7 separate regions of the Homo sapiens genome follow, and all the other regions are linked to region 2. The links are contacts of gene promoters, found by promoter capture Hi-C in blood cells and fetal thymus (Javierre and others, 2016). All regions are on one chromosome and are shown on one strand. The core of a region is centred on a gene start or on the middle of the fragment in contact, and the rest is flanking DNA. Distances in the headings are between cores, read along the strand shown.

The links. Contacts are between HindIII fragments. The CHiCAGO score rates a contact against its expected background, and 5 or more counts as called.
Region 1: a contact is called between a fragment that was not itself captured here and the fragment with the promoter of SKIDA1 in region 2, in 1 of 17 cell types (non-activated CD4 T cells). The highest score is 5.7, in non-activated CD4 T cells.
Region 3: a contact is called between a fragment that was not itself captured here and the fragment with the promoter of SKIDA1 in region 2, in 2 of 17 cell types (naive CD8 T cells and total CD4 T cells). The highest score is 6.2, in naive CD8 T cells.
Region 4: a fragment that was not itself captured here is called in contact with the fragment with the promoter of SKIDA1 in region 2 in 2 of 17 cell types (activated CD4 T cells and fetal thymus); the score reaches 5.8 in activated CD4 T cells.
Region 5: a contact is called between the fragment with the promoter of PIP4K2A here and the fragment with the promoter of SKIDA1 in region 2, in 3 of 17 cell types (activated CD4 T cells, total CD4 T cells and naive CD8 T cells). The highest score is 7.3, in activated CD4 T cells.
Region 6: a fragment that was not itself captured here is called in contact with the fragment with the promoter of SKIDA1 in region 2 in 6 of 17 cell types (total B cells, naive B cells, fetal thymus and 3 more); the score reaches 14.2 in total B cells.
Region 7: a fragment that was not itself captured here is called in contact with the fragment with the promoter of SKIDA1 in region 2 in 1 of 17 cell types (naive CD4 T cells); the score reaches 5.4 in naive CD4 T cells.

Annotation. Positions count from the first base shown.
Region 1 is chr10:22,674,465-22,677,164 of GRCh38, forward strand. All of the region lies in intron 1 of PIP4K2A (phosphatidylinositol-5-phosphate 4-kinase type 2 alpha), which reads right to left. Among named protein-coding and RNA genes, the nearest start is that of PIP4K2A, 39 kb to the right of the region's middle. The HindIII fragment of the contact is 5,805 bases long and covers 1-2,700 here.
Region 2 is chr10:21,524,198-21,527,034 of GRCh38, forward strand. SKIDA1 (SKI/DACH domain containing 1) reads right to left here and starts at 1,485. Exons shown (of 4, transcript NM_207371.4): 1 at 1,350-1,485. RefSeq lists enhancers at 877-1,520, 1,521-2,164 and silencers at 1,820-2,239, 2,360-2,509. The HindIII fragment of the contact is 4,259 bases long and covers 689-2,837 here.
Region 3 is chr10:23,090,604-23,093,303 of GRCh38, forward strand. The region is part of intron 1 of LOC107984215 (a long non-coding RNA gene); the gene reads right to left. Among named protein-coding and RNA genes, the nearest start is that of MSRB2, 3.6 kb to the right of the region's middle. The HindIII fragment of the contact is 1,501 bases long and covers 551-2,051 here.
Region 4 is chr10:22,696,715-22,699,493 of GRCh38, forward strand. The region is part of intron 1 of PIP4K2A (phosphatidylinositol-5-phosphate 4-kinase type 2 alpha); the gene reads right to left. Among named protein-coding and RNA genes, the nearest start is that of PIP4K2A, 16 kb to the right of the region's middle. The HindIII fragment of the contact is 1,569 bases long and covers 657-2,225 here.
Region 5 is chr10:22,713,196-22,715,895 of GRCh38, forward strand. PIP4K2A (phosphatidylinositol-5-phosphate 4-kinase type 2 alpha) reads right to left here and starts at 1,383. Exons shown (of 10, transcript NM_005028.5): 1 at 988-1,383. The coding sequence starts at 1,131. RefSeq lists silencers at 119-228, 529-648, 819-898, 1,199-1,868 and enhancers at 1,029-1,637, 1,638-2,245. The HindIII fragment of the contact is 12,209 bases long and covers 1-2,700 here.
Region 6 is chr10:22,985,417-22,988,116 of GRCh38, forward strand. All of the region lies in intron 10 of ARMC3 (armadillo repeat containing 3), which reads left to right. Among named protein-coding and RNA genes, the nearest start is that of ARMC3, 59 kb to the left of the region's middle. The HindIII fragment of the contact is 2,565 bases long and covers 102-2,666 here.
Region 7 is chr10:22,642,946-22,645,645 of GRCh38, forward strand. All of the region lies in intron 1 of PIP4K2A (phosphatidylinositol-5-phosphate 4-kinase type 2 alpha), which reads right to left. Among named protein-coding and RNA genes, the nearest start is that of PIP4K2A, 70 kb to the right of the region's middle. The HindIII fragment of the contact is 9,116 bases long and covers 1-2,700 here.

The DNA.
Region 1 (2,700 bases), core at 86-2,585, 1.2 Mb after region 2:
CTCAAAGTTAATTCCAGCCATCCAGTTACACATTCAGCAAATACTTATTGTACATCTACTTTATGCCAGTCACTATGTTAGGTGTAGTTCTTTAACTCTTAGCTTTAGCTGACAATAGGTAGAAATGTTATATTCTTTATAGCACTGAAAATATATTTGAACCACTAACGAATTTTGTTTTACTAAGAAATTTCCAGCCAGGCACAGTGATTCATGCCTGTAATCCCAGCACTTTGGGAGGCTAAACGTGGGAGGATGCTTGAGGCCAAGATTTCAGGACCAGTCCAGGCAATATTGCAAGACTCAGTCTCTACCAAAAAATAAATAAATAAATAAATAAATAAATAAAACCCAGCCAGGAGTGGTGGTGTGCCTATGGTCGTAGCTACTCAGCAGGCTGAGGCAGGAAGATTGCTTAAGCCCAGGAGTTTGAGGCTGCAGTGAGCTATCATCATGCCACTGTACTCCAGCTTGGGCAACAAAACAAGACCGTAGGATTCTGTCTTTAAAAAACAAAAAAAAGTCCATCTATATTTTTCATGGGCAGCTAAAAGGTAGCCAACGTAACTATTAATCAAAGAGAACTTACTTTATTGCTTTAAGAGGGCACAGCTCAGAACAGTCATCACTGATACGTGACATCTTTCTGGCCCTTCATTCTTGTAATTTACATATCATTCATTCAATGTTGATTGGTACATTGACTAAAAATTGGGAACATTTGTATTCATGTAAGAGTGGAGATAGTAGCAAGCAAATGAAATTCTTCTATCCCAGGTACCATTACAATGACATATTACCTGATACTTTTGCTTTATCTCTTAGAACATTGTTGAGGAGAAGCCAGGCACGGTGGCTCACACCTGTAATCCCAGCACTTTGGGAGGCCGAGGTGGGCAGATCACGAAATCAGGAGTTTGAGACCAGCCTGACCAACATGGTGAAACCCCATCTCTACTAAAAATACAAAAATTAGCCGAACATGGTGTCGTGTGCCTGTAATCCCAGCTACTCAGGAGGCTGAGGCAGGAGAATCGCTTGAACCCGGGAGGTGGAGGTTGCAGTCAGTGAGCCAAGATTGCACCACTGCACTCCAGCGTGAGCAACAGAGTGAGACTCCGTCTCAAAAAACAAACAAACAAAAACACTGTTGAGGAGAAACAGTAAATAAGAAATGTCAATAAACAAGCCATTATAAGTAATGAAAAGACTCTCCTGAACAAGCAGAATGGTTCCCTTAAATGATCAATGTAGTACAATTCTCCTGACACAGTCCATGAATGAGCCCTCACATCCACTCTACATAATGCTCAGAGAAGAGGGTCAATGGCAGGAGGTGCTGAAGCCTGACTAGTTCCTGGCTGTCATCCTTGAACAACACAGTGTTTCTCTGACATTTCCCGACTTGGAAGAAGGAAACTGATCCACAAAAAAATCACATAATTTATTGCACATTTCCTATTCCTTAAATACTTTGGAAACTGTGGCTAGTATTTCTCAACAACCATTAACAGGGAAACAGACACACTGTTGCCATTTCTTTGTCCCTGTGCTCCATGATGGCACATGGAGCTCCTTTTCCTTTTTGTCTTTTCTTTCCTGTCTTTTCATCTTTTCGGCTCCTTTTCCTGTCTTTTCATCTCTCTGAGCCTCCGTGGAGAGCATTTTTGAAGTGTCTGTTTCCATTGACAGCAGAGGCTCAAAAACTGTGGTCCCAGTAACAGTGCTTTCATTTCCCAAGTTTCTTCTGCTCAATAAGACCCTTGACCAACTTACATTAAACAGCAAATAAAGTTAAGACTTCATGTAAAGTCATCAAGATGTATTCCCTTCGTATGGAAACCAGTACCTACAGAAGTTGTTCACAGTGATGACCTATTGCTTCCAAAGGGCCATGTAACAGCCCAAAGACTTCAAGGACCAGTCTTCATCAGAATTTGTAACCAATCTTTAAACCTATCGTCTCTCAGCTTTGTCTCACTGCTTGAAGAAAATAGCATTTAATGTAGATATGGCCAGATCAAGAGGGGCATTCTAAAAATCTGAATGTGGCACGATACAGTTATAGGTGGAGAGTCTTCAGCTGCTACATCATCTCATCCAGCAGAGAGGAACAAGGGCAAGAGACTAACCAGAGGGAATATCTGGCTCAGTGATGGGCTGATAAGGGAGACCTTTCATAGGCTCTTCCTGCTGATGAATCAGAGAACAAGAAGTAAAAGGTACATCTGCTTAACTGGGCAACTGCTATAGTCCAGGCACTGTTCTGGGTGCTGAGGATACAGAGCTGAATGAAACAGAAAACATTCCTTTCCCTCATGGAGCTTCTTAGCAGAGGAGGAAGCCAACAATTAAAAAACCAGAATGTCACTCAGTACTAAGTGCCACAGGGGAGAAAGGCTTAGCTCAGAGGGATGGCAAGAGCTGAATACTGGGAGATGCTGTTTTGCCTAAGAGGCTTACAATATTTATTACCTGCTAGTAGGTTAGTCTGGTACAATCTGTGCCACCAATACTAGAAATAGGAGAAGAAAAAGCATGATTTTATTGCAAATTACTTTCCTTATATTTCTCTTTCCTGTTATACTTAGGACATTATATTCATTTTTTAAGAGCTATCATCTGTGAATTTCATATCAAGTTATTAAAGGAGGTTACCATGTACATGTTTTGCATGTACATGTTTGCATCACCTGGCAA
Region 2 (2,837 bases), core at 235-2,734:
TAATTCAAACTTCTATTTCCTTTCTCAGTTGGGGTAGTGTTTTGTTTGTGTTTTAAAAAAACACATGGCACAACAAACGTTATGGAAAACGCACTCATTCCGTTAAATGCCGATACAAACCTGCCTTTTACTACATCTGTCTAAGCAGCGCATTGCTAAGTATAAACTTAAAAAAATTTTTTTTTCTCAAAGACATATCTATTATTTCTTGGCAAATACTATTTGGTGATGTGGTGCAAAAACACAATGGTAAAAAATTTCGGGGTATTTGTAAGTTTTCTGGAGAGTTGCAGGCCCCTTTCCTTTTGAAAGTTTAGAGCTCCAATACCCTCAATTCTACTGGCAGAATTAGGATGGACTTAGAGGGTCCTAAACGTGACCGATTCACTAAGGCGGGGGGGGGGGGGGGCTACAGCTTGCAGCAACGTGCTCTGCAACTTAATCCTACGCTAAAAGAGGGCAGAGAGCGAAAAAGAATGGAATACAAACTCTCCCGACATCCGTAGTTACTTTCAAGGTGGATTGTGTATTTTAAGGCTGATGGGAACGTCTGGTTTGTGGAGCAAAAAGAAGAGAAGGTAAGTGTTTGTCCTTGTATCCACCAGTTCGTAGAGAAACAATGAAAGAACAAAGGGAACCACTTCCCCATCTGAACATTTTCTGTATCTCCCTCCGTTTCAAGCCAAAAAGCTTGGGAAGGGATTCGCTTTACTCTACCTTAAGTAGTGGTTGCTGGCTTGTTGAACTAAGAATGAGAAAAAAGTTGAGAGGCAGATATAGACTAAATAATAATAAAAAAGGCTTGCTGTGGCGGATCTCCACCGCGCCAGTGTCAGCAACTTGCAGCAGAAGTTGCTCAATGCACGGAGGCAAAGCCCAAGAAATACCCTTTGCACACCAGATTTCGAACTCAGTCATTTAAATAGACTTTCTTGCTGTTTGAAGGGGTTTCTGCGCACAAAATGTGTAGGTAGTGGCTATGGGAGAGATGTACTATTTAGGTCGAAAAATGATCTCATGGCTATCTGGAAAAGAATTTTTAAAAAGGAAAGGGGATTCAAGTATCACGTTACTGTTTGCTAATAGAAGAAATGGCAGCACTGGCTGGGAAAGGAGAGGGATTCGTATTGAAATGCATTTGCTTTGGGGTACGCTGGTTATCCGCAAGTCTGGCTTTGTGGGTCTGCGTGGCTGAATAAGTGACCAAGTGCCTTCGGCATTATATAAACGGATCGATGTGTGCGGGAGTCCCCAAAGCCGTCGAGCACGTGAAACGCGACTTTTTACTGCCCTCCAAGCGGCGACCAAGCCCCGCTCCACCCCACCCCGCCTCAAAATCCGTATATTACCTGCCCTGTTACAGTGACACATGTTTATGTTTATAGTCCTGGTTTGTAGTAGTGTCAAGAACCGCAGCAAGAGGAAGGGGAGGAGAGAGGAGAGGGAGGAGTAAATTCAACCACCCCCACTTGTTGTTAAAGCAAATTTACTGCGTTATTGCAAGCTCAGGACGGGGGGCTGGGATGAGAGTTGAGAGGAAGGGTTGAGTTGGGAAGTGTGTTGGCGGTGGAAGGTGGGGGTGGGGTTAAGAGCTCCGCAATGGAGCTCCTCTCCCCAGCAGCCCAGGAAAAGCAGCTCGGTCAATAGGGGAGCATGCTGGCGCGGTCGAAAACAAAAAGGTTCCTCCTGCTCGCTGCGTTCACGTGGGGGGCTCTGCACGCGGGGCTCCAGGGCCGTGACCCCTGACCCCGGCTCCTCTCCGCGCTCTCCGGTGCCGCGCGGCCACTTTTTACCCAGGATCCCTCGCGCGGGCCGCGCTCGTGCCGAGCTGGAGTCCTTCCTAATCCTCCATTCCCGGCTCTCGCTCCCCGCCCCCGCCGCCAGCCCCGGGGGAGGATTCTCCGGCGGGGAACCCCCGCCCCACCCCCACCCCGACTGCCCCGGCGGAGTCGGCCGCAGCGAGTCCGCGCGGGGCGGGGAGGGCCGGGCCGGGCCTCCCCTACCGCGCCGGGCCTGCGAGGGAGGGGAGGGACGGGGAGCCGAGGGGAGGGGGCGCCGGCCTCCCGGCTCAGCTGCCCCACTGAGGCCTGGACCTGTTGACTGCGATTGGCCCGCCTCATCCCGCGCCCTCTCTCTGCTCGCAGCGGCCCCAGCCCTTCCGCGGCGTCGCGGGGAGGAAATGGGGATGGCTGTCCTCCTCTCCGCCTCCTTCTAACTTTCCTTTTTTTATTTGGGTGTGTTGGGGGGGGTGCTGAGAAAGCCCAGGCAACTCCACCGCCGCCCCATCCTGCCTCCGAAAGTCTCGTCACGCCCGACCCGCCGCCGCCCTCCCAGCCCCCATGACTTAAAACCGCCTCCCCTCCTCGCAGCGGCGCCCCGGCCCGGAGCCCGAGAGCCCTCGACGCCCCCGCCGCGCCTCCCCCGCCTGGCCTGGCCCAGCGGCGTCCCCAGCGAATTGTGTCGCTTTTCTGCCCTGGAAGCTCCCTCGGCCACGTTCCACTTTTTTTCCCAGTCCCAGGAGGCGTAAGATAAAACCTCTGATTTGCTGCGTGCTGCCGGGCACATTCTCTGCCCTCTCGTCCGAAGGACGAGTTTAAAATGGAGAGTTTAAAATAATAGCATTTACAGGAGGAAATAAAGAGCGAGGAGATGGTTCTTTGGCCGGTTTTAAGACATACATGCTTTTTTTTTCTTTTAATACAAGATGTCTTAAGGGTTAAAAGCGTTCTAGGGTTTGCTGTATTTCCTTCTAGATTTGGGGTTTCCTGAGGAAATCTTTTCCGGAGGGAAATAGCAAATCAACATTAAGATGGAAGCGAGACTTCTCAGCCACTTTT
Region 3 (2,700 bases), core at 51-2,550, 1.6 Mb after region 2:
TCTATTTTTATCCACATTTATTTCAGTTGTTATTTTTTCAATTCCTGTAAAGTAATCCATTGGGATTATAAGTGACATAGCTTAAATCTATAAGTTGAATGTATTTTAACCTTCGTAATTTCAGCTCTTTGGTCAGCAAGTGTATCTTTCCATTTTTCACCACCCGTCATATAATTACAGACTGAAGAGAGTTGAGATATAATTTGAGTTCTAGTTCTAGGCCACCCTCCCCTGTATTCGTGTCATTTTCCAGATAATCAAACCAAGGCCCAGAGACTGGTTTGTCCAAAACATCTGTATCTGCTTAGGAGAACACCTAGAAATTGAACCCAGAGCTTATCCCATGCTATTTTTTTCTATCGAACCATTTATTTAAGTCTTCATTCACTGCCTTTAGAGCTTTAAAACTATATTTTATATATATTAGATGTTCCAGTTGGTTAGTTTCTAGGAATTCTCTAGATTGAGGTAAAACAAAAATGAGTATCGACATTGAACTTTGGGCAGATGGAAGCAGATAAAGTATTTTCAGTGCAGATTAATTGTGTAAAGCTTATTCCAGTCCCTCATTCTTTCCCAAATGGTTTTTGGTAGGGAAAAGCAAATTGGCTTTTGCACTTATCTCCCATTTTTTGGTCATTCTATCCTATCTTTTAGGGATTTTATTATCAAATTTATAGTTTGCAGAGAAGTGTGTTGGATATACAAAGAGTCAAAGTTATAGAATTTTGCCTTTCCTGAAGATTCTCACAATCAAATTCAGGACATCAGATATACACTGTGTCAACTTCATGAAACAGAAAATCCCAGTAACAGTGATTTAAACAAAATATAGATTTATTGGTCTCTCATGTAATTGGAAATCTGAAGGCAGGCAATCCAAGACTAGCATATTGACTCCACACTGTCTTCAGAATCCTGGGCTCCTTCATGTCTTCTACTTCTTTAAAATCAAGATGTGGGTCTCATCTTCATGTATACCAGAAGATTGCCAGTGCTCCAGCCATCATGACTAATTTCCAAGCAGAAACAAAAGACAGAGCAAAAGTCCAGTGCTGAGCCAGCTCCTCTTTAACTAGTTTTCCTGGTAGCTCCCAGTGATGTCTGCTCCTATCATTGCCCATAACAGCATCATATGATTGCCACCAACTACAAGGGAGCTGACAGATGTAACATTTTAGCTAGGCATATTGCTACTCTTAATAAAATCAAAGATCTGTTTGTAAGTAGAGAGAGTGGATATCGGCCAGGCAAATGATAGTCTCTACCACTCAGTGTACAAAGTAAAAGGGAAAACATAAAGTAGAGTTTTGTTCAGGCTAAGACCATGTGTCCAAGAATGTGAGGTTAATGCATGGCCTTGATGGTTAAGTTGGATTCAGATAAATGGTGGTGAGAAGAGGGGACATTTTAAGACCAGTAAGGGCTTGATCACAGATGAGGTAAAGGTCCTCCTAGCAGGTGTAAAGGAGAATGGTGGTAGGGAGGGAGGGACTTCCTCTGTGCTTAGAATGTCTTTCTGGGAGTGTGAGGATATGTAGAAATGCAAGGATAGATTGGTTATCAGCTCTGTTTACCAATTACCGTTGTCCTCATTAAATCTTCAATAACAACTAACGTTTATTAAAACCAAGTATGTACCAAAGGGTTTGCTAGGTGTTTTAACGTATGTTGTATCTAATCCTTACAATAACCCCATTTTGGGGATAAGAAAACTGATCTGTCACAGGTTGAATACTTGATCAAGCTCATGCGTCTTTTAAATTTAAGATATTCTGACTTGAATGTGTTTTACACCAGACTCCATGATTTTTTTCCCACAATGTCACAATGTTAAGTTAATTTATTAACTTTGCTTGGGATTGGGGGTGAAGGTGGGTGAGTTAAACCGGTATTCCTTGATATTTTCTAAATTCTAAACTTTAGGGGAACTTTACAAACTCTTCAACTAACTAGCAGTGTGATCATAGACAAGGTACTTATCCTCTCTGGATTTGAATTTGTTTACTTATTACTCAGATACAAAACCAGACAGATACTATAAGAGAGGAAGCTTTCAGTCCAACATCCTTCATCAACACAGACACAAAAATTCTAAAAAAATGTAATCCATGATACATAGAACATAATCCAACAATACATGAAACAAATAATAAAACTGACAAAGCAGGCTTTATTGAAGAAATACTAAGTTGGTTTAACGTTTGAAAATCAAGTAACAAACTACAAAAAGAAAATAGGAAAAAGGTATGATTATATCAGTAGCTGCAGAAAAGCATTTGACAAAAATCCAACATCCCTTCCTGATAAAAACTCTCAGTAGACTACAAATAGAAATTTCCTTAATCTGATAGAAAATTTATGAAAAACTTATAGCTAATATCATACTTAATGGTAAAAGGCTGAATACTTTTCCTCTAAGATCAGGAACAAGACAAGGATGTTCACTCTCAACATTTCTATTCAACACTGCGCAGGCTCTAACCAGTGCAATAAGGCAAGAAAAAGAAATCAAAGACATCTGTATTAAAAAGAAAGAGTAAAACTCTTTCTACACAGATGACATGATTTTTCTATGTAGAAAATCTGATAAAATCCATAAAATGTTACTAGAACTAAGAAATGAGTTTAGAAAGATTACAGAATACAAGATCAATATACAAAATCTACATACTAGCAATCAGAAATTGAAATTGATAA
Region 4 (2,779 bases), core at 191-2,690, 1.2 Mb after region 2:
AGAATGGTCTGTTTTTGTGTCAAACATTTAATATTTTAAAATACTAGAACAAGGAATAATTCTCTATTAGGTAATCATCCAAGTTAAATATATATTATCATCTTTTACAAAAGACCCTTAATTTTCTACTTAATTCAAGCTTTAAAAAATAAGGATCAATTAAGGTCCCATTTTAAAAGAAATATATTATCCCAGGGCTAATTTTAAAGCCTGAATTCATCTAAAATAGTCAGTAATTTAGGCCTCCTGAAAATTGGCAACTGTAGTTAGCACTGTCACAATAAAATACATCCACATAAAGTGGAAATAACAGTTTATCTAGATGGCTACAGTTTATAAGCGTGACCTTTCCTTTCTTTCTAAGAGCTCTACTTTTTTCCTTCAATTTTCTTCAGTGTTCTCTGGAGTTCATTTCCTTCAGCTTAAAAAAAAAAAAAAGGCTACTTTGTATGTTAAGTAAAAATTAAAATTGCATTGCTTTTCCTTTCTGAGTGTCTTATCTAAATGGAAAGAAGCCTGAGTACTCAGTTAGATGGCAAAGCTCTGAGCTTCCACACCTGCCTTGCCAGGCTTCGGAATGTTTGTGAGGTCAGCACAAGTGACCGGCATTATTTATACTACATAATTCTTGACAGAGTGGCTAGCGCACAGAATCAAGCTTCAAGCCAAACTACAGGACCACAGTAGAGGGATGGTAACATCCAACATTTAAAAAGCAAGGCTGGGTGTGGTGGCTCATGTCTGAAATCCCAAAACTTTAGGAGGCCGAGGCAGAAAGATCACTTGAGCCCAGGAGTTCAAGACTATCCTACTAGGCAACACAGCAAGACCCCCATCTCTACAAAAATTTGTTTTTAAAAATTAGCGGGGTATGGTGGCACACAACTATAGTCCCAGCTATTACAGGAGGCTGAAGCAGGAGAATCACTTGTACCCAAGAATTCGAGGCTGTAGTGAGCTATGATCACACCACTGTACTCCAGCCTGGGTAACAGGGCAAAACTGCATCTCGGAAAATTTTTTAAAAAATTAAACACACACATACACACACACACACAAACACACACACACCCTGTAATTGTGGACTCTAGCAGATGTCACATTACATTTTCTGAAACGGTTCATGTGAATCGTCCATAGGTCGAGTCTAACGTTAAGCAGTCAGACCGAGGATAATGAAAGGCAAATTCCTGACTAGTCTACTTACATGGGAAGAATTCTGCCTGCCATTAAATGCTATTGGATTGAGTTTAATATAAATCATGTGGGCTATGGCCAGCAAAAATTAACCAACCACAGACAGTGGACAGCGACCTGCTTCTGGGATGCAGGCACTCTCTGCTTAGAGTCCGACGAAGAAAAACTGGGAGAAGTGGGTCAGTTGAAAGCAGCTCTTTTCAGAGGGCAGACTCGGGCCAGGCAGCCTATGTGGAAGCCATCTTCCAACCTCAGACCTGATACTCCCACACTGCCCATGTGCGTACATCTTTGGTCAAACTGCTGAAAATCTCTATAAAGAGATTTAAATGGGTTAAAAGCATATGGGAAAAAAGGATATCTTTTTATTCCAATCTTTGCTGTTCAATTTAGAACCCTGAAAGCAGAAGATGTGGGAAAGCAGCTCTTAGCCACACTGCTAGGGTTATAATCTGGTATAACCCTTTTTGAAAGCAACTTGGCAACATGTACCAAGAGCCTTAAAATATTCATACCCTTTGACCAAGTAAATTCCCCAAAAAGAGAATCTCTTCTAAGGAAATCATCCTAAATAAGAAAGAGTTTCATACAGGGAGATGCTGACAGCAACATTATTTGTGGTGGCAAAATACTGGGACCAATGTTTGGACTATTAAACTTCATTAAACTATTTAGGTTGGTGCAAAAGGAATAGCAGTTTTTGCCACTGAAAGTAATGGCAACAACCACAATTACTTTTGCACCAACCTAATTATTAAGCAGTGATCAAAAATTTAAAATAATTGTTAAGAATACATAGTAAGATTAAATACATAGAATAGTCTCAATGAGATTTTTTTAAAAAGACATTGGAAAGAAACATTAAAACATTAACACTGGTTGCTTGATAGAATGGTTATGGTAATTTTTTATATTTGTGTGTGTTTTTCAAATTTTTCAGAAAATATGCTATGTATCTGTACTTATCAGAACTTAAATTTCACTGAAACCATATTTCTAGTTCACCTAAATAAGCATAAGAAGAAAGAAGCTTTATCTAACACATAATAAAAATATTCACTATTGGCTATTTCCTGGCTCAAATATTCATTGGCATGTGTTAAATCTGTGAGTATCCGATGCCAGAACTGCAAGAGAAAGTGAATTAGACAAAAAGATTAGCTTCTCCTAACCTATTTTTTTAATGTCCCTAAAATTTGCTCCTGTCCTCCTACTTTGGCGCAACGTGCCAAAAAGAAAGTGCCTTATGGATTTATCATAATTTCAGAAACAATATCTGTTTCCCAACAGTTCTTCTGATGCCAAAGCATTTAACTTTCCATCTGGGTGCAGGCAGAACCTAATTTATGAATGGGTTGTGTTCCAAACATTCATTTGTAAGTTGGCCCTTTGATTCTACAGGAAATGTACTCCAAGGCCTAATGTAGTAAAAGCCTGTGGACTTGGTCTAAGAGAGACAGGGGACCCCTGAGAAGAAAACTTCTGTTCCTGTTCCTGGGCACAGAAGCAAGCTAGGGCCAATGCTGAAAAAGGTAGCTGCTGAGTAGCGCAGGGAGACAACTGAACACACTAGATACCTGGG
Region 5 (2,700 bases), core at 133-2,632, 1.2 Mb after region 2:
GTCAGATCAGCAGGAGGCTATTTCAGACCCTCGAACCGCAGTCCGCATAGCCCGCAGCGGCGCATCCTCCAATCCCCGACTGTGCGTGACGCTAACCTTTCCACGCGTTCTCCAGCCTTTCCCACACCCCCCACAGCGGGTGCGGCCAACTCGGGACCCCCTCCGCCCGCGCCCGCCGGGACCCCCGCCTGCTGTCCCCGCCCCGGCCGCCCTTCCGCAGTCGGTGACTTCTGCCTGACTCCCCAAAGTGGGGGGAGGCGACGAAGGGAGGAAGACTCCCCGCCAAGGGCTCTCCAGCCCGCACAGCGGCAGGGCGATGCGGGAGAAGCGCAGGGATGCCGCCCGACGCCAGAGCCATATTTACATCGGCTGCTGCTTTGCCAAAAAGCCGACTTGTGCCCAGTAATATTGCCTTTAAAGGAAAAAGAAAGGACCTAAGCACTAAAGCTGCTGCCCCAAATCTGCTCGCGCTCCGGTATCCTCGCCCCAGTGCCCCAGTGGGAGGCTCGCACGCGCCCAGCCCGGGACAGGTACACCTGCCCGCAAGCGGAAGACGCGGGCGCCGCGCGGCCCCCACACCGGGTAGCGGTCGCCCGGACCCGGCCCCCAGCAGCTCCCGCCGGGGCTGACAGCCGAGGCGCCGTGCCCCGCACAAACTTCCTACCTCCCAGGCTGCGGGGACCGACCTGCGGGCGGGCGGGCGGACCGGGGGCGGCACTGGCACCCACCGTGAGACTCACATGCACACGGGACCCCCGACCCGCACCGGGCCATAGATCTAAAGGGGACGCAAGTGGTGGTGCCTGGGCGGCCCAGAGGGCTGGGGGCACGCGCCGCGGGGCTGGGGGCTTCGAGGCGGGCGAGCAGCCGGAGGTCCAGGGCTGACTCCGGCTCCCCGCCCCGCAGCAGCTGCAGCCGGAGGAGGAGGGGAACGAGGAGGAAGAGGAGGAGGAGGAAGGGGACCGCGCGCCGCAGCTGAGCCCTTACCGAGTGGTTTACCCCCCACATGAGGACGCTGAGCAGCGGGTCGCTGGCCCGAAACAGCTTCACTTTCTGCGCTACGAAGTGCTTCTTCTTGGTCTTGGTCTTGCTCGCCAGGACAGAGGACCCTAGGTTGCCGGGGGTCGCCATGGCCGCCTCCTATGTCCCCTCCACCGCCGTGCTCCCGAGGCCGGGGACCCGCCCTCTCTACACCCCGGCCCGGGGAGGCAGCCGCATCCCCCCGGCGGCGGCCCCGGCGCGCCGCGCTCCGCTCCGCCCGCCGCCGCCGGCGCGCTCAGCCCCACTCGGCTCGCTCCGCCCGCTCGGCCCGGCAGACTGCGCTCGGCTCGCGCCCCGGCCCGTATCCTGCGCCCGCCGCGGATCCGCGCTCAGCCCGCGGCTGGACCCGGCGCGCGGCGAGCGGCTTCCGCGTTGGGCGCCGGCGTCATGACGCAGGGGGCGGGCGGGCAGGCGGGAGGCGGCTGCGGCGCCGCGGGCGGGGCACTGGGTGCGGGGCGCGGGGCGCGGCAGCTGGACCGTTAGGCTGCGCCTTCCCGCCCCGGCTCCGCTGCAGCCGGGCCGCCCCCTGTGCGCGGGCGACCTCCGGGCGTTCGCTCCCTGCCCGCGGAGGAGGCCGTGGGTTGCGAGCGGGAGCCTGGGGACCCCGGCTAGGCGTCCCCTGCCGCTCCCCAAGGAGGGAGAGGACAGAGTGGGCAGAGTGAGGAGGTTGGGGAGAGGAGCCCCCAGGCGTCGATCAGGCGAAGGAGGGAGGCTCATGCACTCACCCACGCCACGAGTCAGGAGACCCAGCCAGGTGTGAAATGCTGCAGGGAGACCAGGGCTTCCCAGCACCGAGGGGAAGGACCCGGGCACATTGCCGGGTCAGTCCCTGAAATGAACTTAATACTTTTGTGCGGATAACCGTCTGGCCTTTCAGACCCTCGATATGGGCCTCCTGGAGCCATTCAAGAGGGAGACTCCCACGTAATAGGCTGGGCTGTCACTGCCAACCCACTCCGTGCCCGGGGCAGGAACCTCGGACCTCATCGAGAGCCCTTGGCTTAACCAGTAGAATCATGCCCCAAAGTGCACCTTCTTCCAATCCATCACTATGGTACTTGCCATCCCTGCCTGTTTTCCAGTGCACTCACCGTCCGTGGAAATCTGTTCACCGTCTTCCTCCAGATACACCTAAATGTAGCCCTTATTATGCTGAGAATACTTGGCCTACCTCAGGAAGCTGCCATTCCAAGTATGTCTAAAACCCTGCTGCCCCCATATCGTCCTTGCAGTCGTCATCCTGTGCTATTTACTCTGACCCAGCTCACCAGTCCTCACGGAGTAGGTTCTTGGAAACTGTCACCTTAAGCAAAACAACATATAACAAAACCAAATTTGCCATAGGCTGACATATAAAAAAAGAGTTAAGTTCCTACAGCATTATTTCCGGTTACAAAAACATCACCGAACTTCAAAGTAAAAATTCAAAACACTTCTAATATTAAACATTAAAATAAATGTGAGCTATACCTCTTTTTTATTTTTATTTTTTCCCTTGAGATAGGGTCTCGCTGTGTCAACCAGGCTGGGGGTGCAGTGGTGCAATCACAGCTCACTGCAGGCTCTACTTCCCCAGACTCAGGTGATTCTCCCACTTCAGACTCCCCAGTAGTTGAGACTACAGGCGCGCACCACCAAGCCTGGATAAACTTCTTGTAT
Region 6 (2,700 bases), core at 134-2,633, 1.5 Mb after region 2:
TCAGTTTTTCATTTTCACTGCTATCAGTGGATCTGATTGGCAGAGCTCTAACTTCCTCCCTGTCAGAGTTCCTTTCAAATCCTTCCTTTCTGTCCATGAAAAGCTTGGATTCCAGGTAACCCAGCTTTATCAAATTGTACACAAAAGCCATACAGGAGGGCCTGATGCCTCTTTGGTATGTACATAATTTTTGCTTCTCAGAGGCCATTCCCTACCCCCACAGATAATTCTCGTGTATGTTGTGGTTATGTGAAATTTCCAGGTATTTGAGTTATGGATACGTGGATATGGATGGTAGTTAAAAATTATTAACAAACATGAATCCTTTTACTTACAAATGGGCTAATGTTGTAGAGTAAAATAGACATAAAATATATCCTGGAAGTAAATTCCGCTTCCGGGAGTATTTTGCCTTAGGTCATTGTAGTGACACCCTCTTGCCTGGAAAACCTCTTCCCATGCAGGCTGTGGTTCTCTCCCTCACCCCGTTTACATCTCTGTTACAATGTCACCTTGGCGAAGCTACTTAGCATTACCACACGGCTTAAGATTGCACTCCACACATGCATATTTTCAACGCTCCTTCCCTGCTGCCCTTTTCACATACCCTTATCATTTTCTAACATAGCATGTAACTCACCTGGTACACTTATCATCATTTATTTTCTGCACCCCCACACCCCTGCACTGCACGCCCCCCCCCCGCGCCACACACCAACCACTAGCATCCATGAAGGGAGCAGCCTTCATCTATTTAATTCACTGATGCATCCCAAGCATCTAGAACACTGTCCATCCCATAGTAGGCATTCGAAGGAAAATAGGCTTACATCAAAAATACAACCAAAAAATGGCCGGGCAAAGGTGGTTCACATCTGTAATCCCAGCACTTTGGGAGGCCAAGGCGGGTGGATTACTTGAGGTCAGGGGTTCGAGACCAGCATGGCCAACATGGCAAAACCCCATCTCTACTAAAAATACAAAAATTAGCCAGGAATGGTGGTGCATATCTGTAATCCCAGCTACATGGGAGGCTGAGGCATGAGAATTGCTTGAACCCTGTAGGCAGAGGTTGCAGTGAGCCAAGATCGCGCCACTTCACTCCAGCTTGGGCAACAGAGTGAGACTCCATCTCAAAAAAAAAAACAAAAAAAAAAAAAACAAACCCAAAACAAAACAAAACAAAACAAAAAACCCAAAAGTAAAAGAAAAGTGATGAAAACAAAGTCTATTTGACAAACAAAGTCTGTTGTCAAACAATCAATAATGGCCATTACTTAAAACAGAAAGCAATCATCAGTGTTGTTTTCTTTGTTTTTATATAACTTGGAAAACAGAAGCAACAGTGGAGGCTTCCCTATAAGAGCCTCCTATTGATACTTCTAATTATTATCTACAGAATAAAGATAACTTAAAGTGGGTACAAATATGAAAAGGCAATGAATAAGAATAAAAATAACTATTTTTATAAAGGCATAGTAAAAGGGGACAAGAACAGCCAGATTCACTTATTAGCAGTGAAAGAAGGAGAAAGCAAAGTAAAACTATTTTTAAGTGAATAAATAAAAGGTGTGAAGGCTAAAACAATGCCTGTAGAAAGGAACAAATAAAAATGGAAACCAAGAAGCAATAATGAATTTTATAGAAAAATGTAGTTGTTTGGACACATATCTTTTCTTGGTATACTGCTAATCTCTTTTACAGTTAACAATTTGTAATGCCTTTTGAAAACGAGAAAACCGTTTATTTTTGACATAGGAAATATTGTTTTCAGCTAAATTTCATGTTACATTTATCCTGTATGCTTCTATCCAATTAATCATATCAAAGTTCCATATTATTTATGCAAGTACTGAGAGACTTATTCTCTGAGGAGCAGACCCTACACATTAAAAGAATGTTTTAAACTATTACTTTATAACATCACTGCCATCTGTTGGATCTGATCAGAATTAGAGTTTAAGTTGTTCCAAGAAGAAAAAGGGTTCAGTGTTTTTCACTTCCCTTTGGCAATGCTAACTAAATTTGGCCACTGGTAAACTATGAAAAGATTAGAATAAATGTTCAGAACTAATAAAGATTAGTATAAATGTTGGCTAGACAGTTTTCAAAAGATGCAATTATCTTAGGAAATAAAATGCAATGAACAAAATAAAAATATACACAGTAATAACTACAATTATTTTAATAACTATAGAGAAGTGAGAACTGAAGTTTTGTTACAGTAAATGCATGATCATAAGTCCCTTGTTTACACATAGATCACACTAACTCTGATTCTTCATAATTATTCCATGTCATCCCCATGAAGAACTGAGTGATTTACCTAAATCTTAGAGACCCTTTTATTACCATTTCTTTGCTTTTTATTTTTTATTTTTTGTACCCCTTTTGACTTTCCATGACAGCAGTGACCCAAGAAAGTTCTAAATGTTAGCACATATAGTGGTGACTGAAAAATTAATTGATTGATTACTGGCCCATTGCCAGCTTCTACAATACCAGAGACAAAAAGCTCTTCCCCAGAAACTGTCTTGCTGTTGTGTTCCCTATGGTCAGGACCGCACAAGGGAATGATGAAATTGTAAGCAGTACACTCCAAAGGGACTCCACAAACAGATAGAATGCCCCCAAATTATATGGATGTGCATTTGAGTGCTTTGGGAAGCTTAGAATGTCCTCGTTATATATGGATAACTT
Region 7 (2,700 bases), core at 11-2,510, 1.1 Mb after region 2:
GTCTGCTGTGGAGATGAGGAGAAGCTCATCACGCTCCTGAATATGAGACCTGGGATTACCTGCCTATTTCATTAAGCAATTTTCAAAAGGCTCCAGCACCAAGGAGGAGGAGTGGAAACACCTAGTTCTCCCTGTGGGTGATGGACACCTCATCAGGATGGGGACAGACTGAGGACTTGGCTCCTGGAGCTCCAGTTTTCCCAACTCCAAGTCTCGGGCCCCTTCTTCCCACCCATCTCCTCATCCCTCTCTCACCAATTACTAACTCCCTTGTCTACAGTTTGCCAGACTACATCCTATGGGCAAATCTGGCCGCTGGCTGCTTTTGTCAATAACGTTTTATTGGAACAGAGCCAGGCCCATTGATTTGTGTTATCTATGGCTGTGTTCGTGCTATGATAGAAGTTTGAGTCACTGACAGAAACTGTATGGCCTAAATACAGTGCCTAAAATACTTACTGTCTTTTTGCAGAAAAAGTTTGCTCACCCTTAGATCTGTCTTAGGAAGGCAGATTAATCCCACCAGGCCTTCCATCCCTGTTTAATTCAGATGTTACAAGAATTCTAGCCACCAGCTCGCTCCATTCCCCTCCAAAGATTGCCTAACCTGACCCAGTTGACCTGAACCTTTGCCATCCCAGGCCCCCAAATCCCTCCATGGGGCTCTCCAAGAGTCATAATTTCTCATCAGCAAAAATTAACCTAACGCTGAACCTTTATCTTTTCATGCCAGCCAAATTCTGATTGTCCCCAAGGACCACACTTCCCTTGCAGCCCCCCTCAAGTATTTTTTTCTTCTGCGCAGGAACCACAGAACCAGAAGATGGGGTAGGTGCCTTGTGCTCCTCCTGACCAATCCCACACCCCCATTCCCTCCTCCTCCCTGAAGCGGTCATCCCCTCTGAAGCACCTACCATCACATTACACCACGCCTCTGCCTCTTGGAAGGCTCCTGGCCACTTCCCCTTCCCTTGGAGGGTTTATCATCCTCCAGAACCCAGCCTGCCCCACCATCTGCAGTGCAATGGCTCTCAGTTTTTAAAACATTTCTAGCCCTAATCTCTCCACTGAATTCTAAACTCCTGCTAATCACCATCCCCAGCTGGATCTCTAACAAGCATCCCCAAAACTAAACAACACGTAAATATGAAGTCCTGTTCTCCCCTGGCCTGCAACCAGCTCCTGCTCACCCCTCCCTCTCTCAGCCAGTGGGACCTCCACGCACAGAGTAGCACCTCCATGCACAGAGTAGCTTGGGCCCAAACTCCCGGAGTTGACTCTGACTCCCCTCTCACCCTGCAGTCAAGTCTTCAGCAAATCTGTGGGCTCTTTATTCAAAACATGCCCCAAATCAGCCACTTCTCTCCACCACTGCCTCTCTCTTCAAAGCCATCAGCATGATTCTGCAGATGGCGGCAAAGCCTCCTGGGAGGTCTTGGCTTATCAGTTCCACACCTTGCAGCCCAGGGCATCCTATGCAGAACATCAAGCTAATTATTTCACATCCCTGCCCAACTCCTCTACAAGTCCTCACCTTGGCTAAACTCCTGCCTGGTTTGCCCATGGCTAGTCCGTCAGGCTTCGGTCCCCACCTCACTTCCCAGTCTCTCACCTCAAGTCTCCTCTCAAATGCCACCTTAGCAGATGGGGCTCCCCTCACCACCCTATCCAGATGGCACCCACCACTCTAATCTCCTTCCCTAGCACTTGGTAGCACCTGACCTGACAACTTACTTTGTTCATTTTTAACATTTTCTCTCCGCCTCCTAGAATGTAAGACAGGACAGTAGGGATCTAGTCTGTGTGTCTATTTTTTCCCTAGTGTGTATCTTCTAGGACCTACACTTGTGCCAGGTAATTAGTGGACAGGCCATAAATATTCAATAAATAAATGAACTAAATGAACCAACCAAGTCACCATTATTTGTTTCATGGCAACTTGCCCTAACTGGAGAAGAAAAAGAACTGCTTCGGTTAATTTCCAGATACTCCTAGAAATTCCCAATCCATAAGAGTCAGTAAATTCGCAAGACAGTTTTCTAAGACTTACTGCCTACCCCCTTCCCCCTATGCTGGGGACTTACTAAAAGAGCAAAGAAATATTAAACTATCAGGTAGAACCAAATCACTATAATTGGTCAGAATTGACTTTTAAAATACCAAAATTTTGATCTTTTAAAATTTTGATTCTCCACACTAGGTTGAAGCAACTCATTTTGAAAACGCAATTTTTTTAAATGGGTGACGATGACAAAAAAATATTAATGCTCACGTATAACACCACTAGTGTGTCTGGTTAGTTATTAAAAATGAATTAGGGCCAGCCACGATGGCTCACGCCCATAATCCCAGCACTTTGGGAGGCTGAGGTGAGGGGATTACCTGAGCCCAGGAGTTTCAGACCAGCTTGAGCAACATAGTGAGACCCTGTCTCTACAAAACATTTTAAAAATTAGCCAGCCATGGTGGCAGGACCTGTAGTCCCAGCTACTCGGGAGGCTGAGATGGAAGCATCACTTGAGCCTGGGAGTTTCAGGTTGCAATGAGATACGATTGCACCACTGTGCTCCAGTTCTGGGTAACAGAGAAAGATTCTATTTCTTTAAAAAAAAAAAAAAAAGAAAAGAAAAGAAAAGAAAGAAAAAGATTAGTTTTGAAGGAATGAAAACAAGTAGAATACTGTAAACTTTGTTAAAGTAA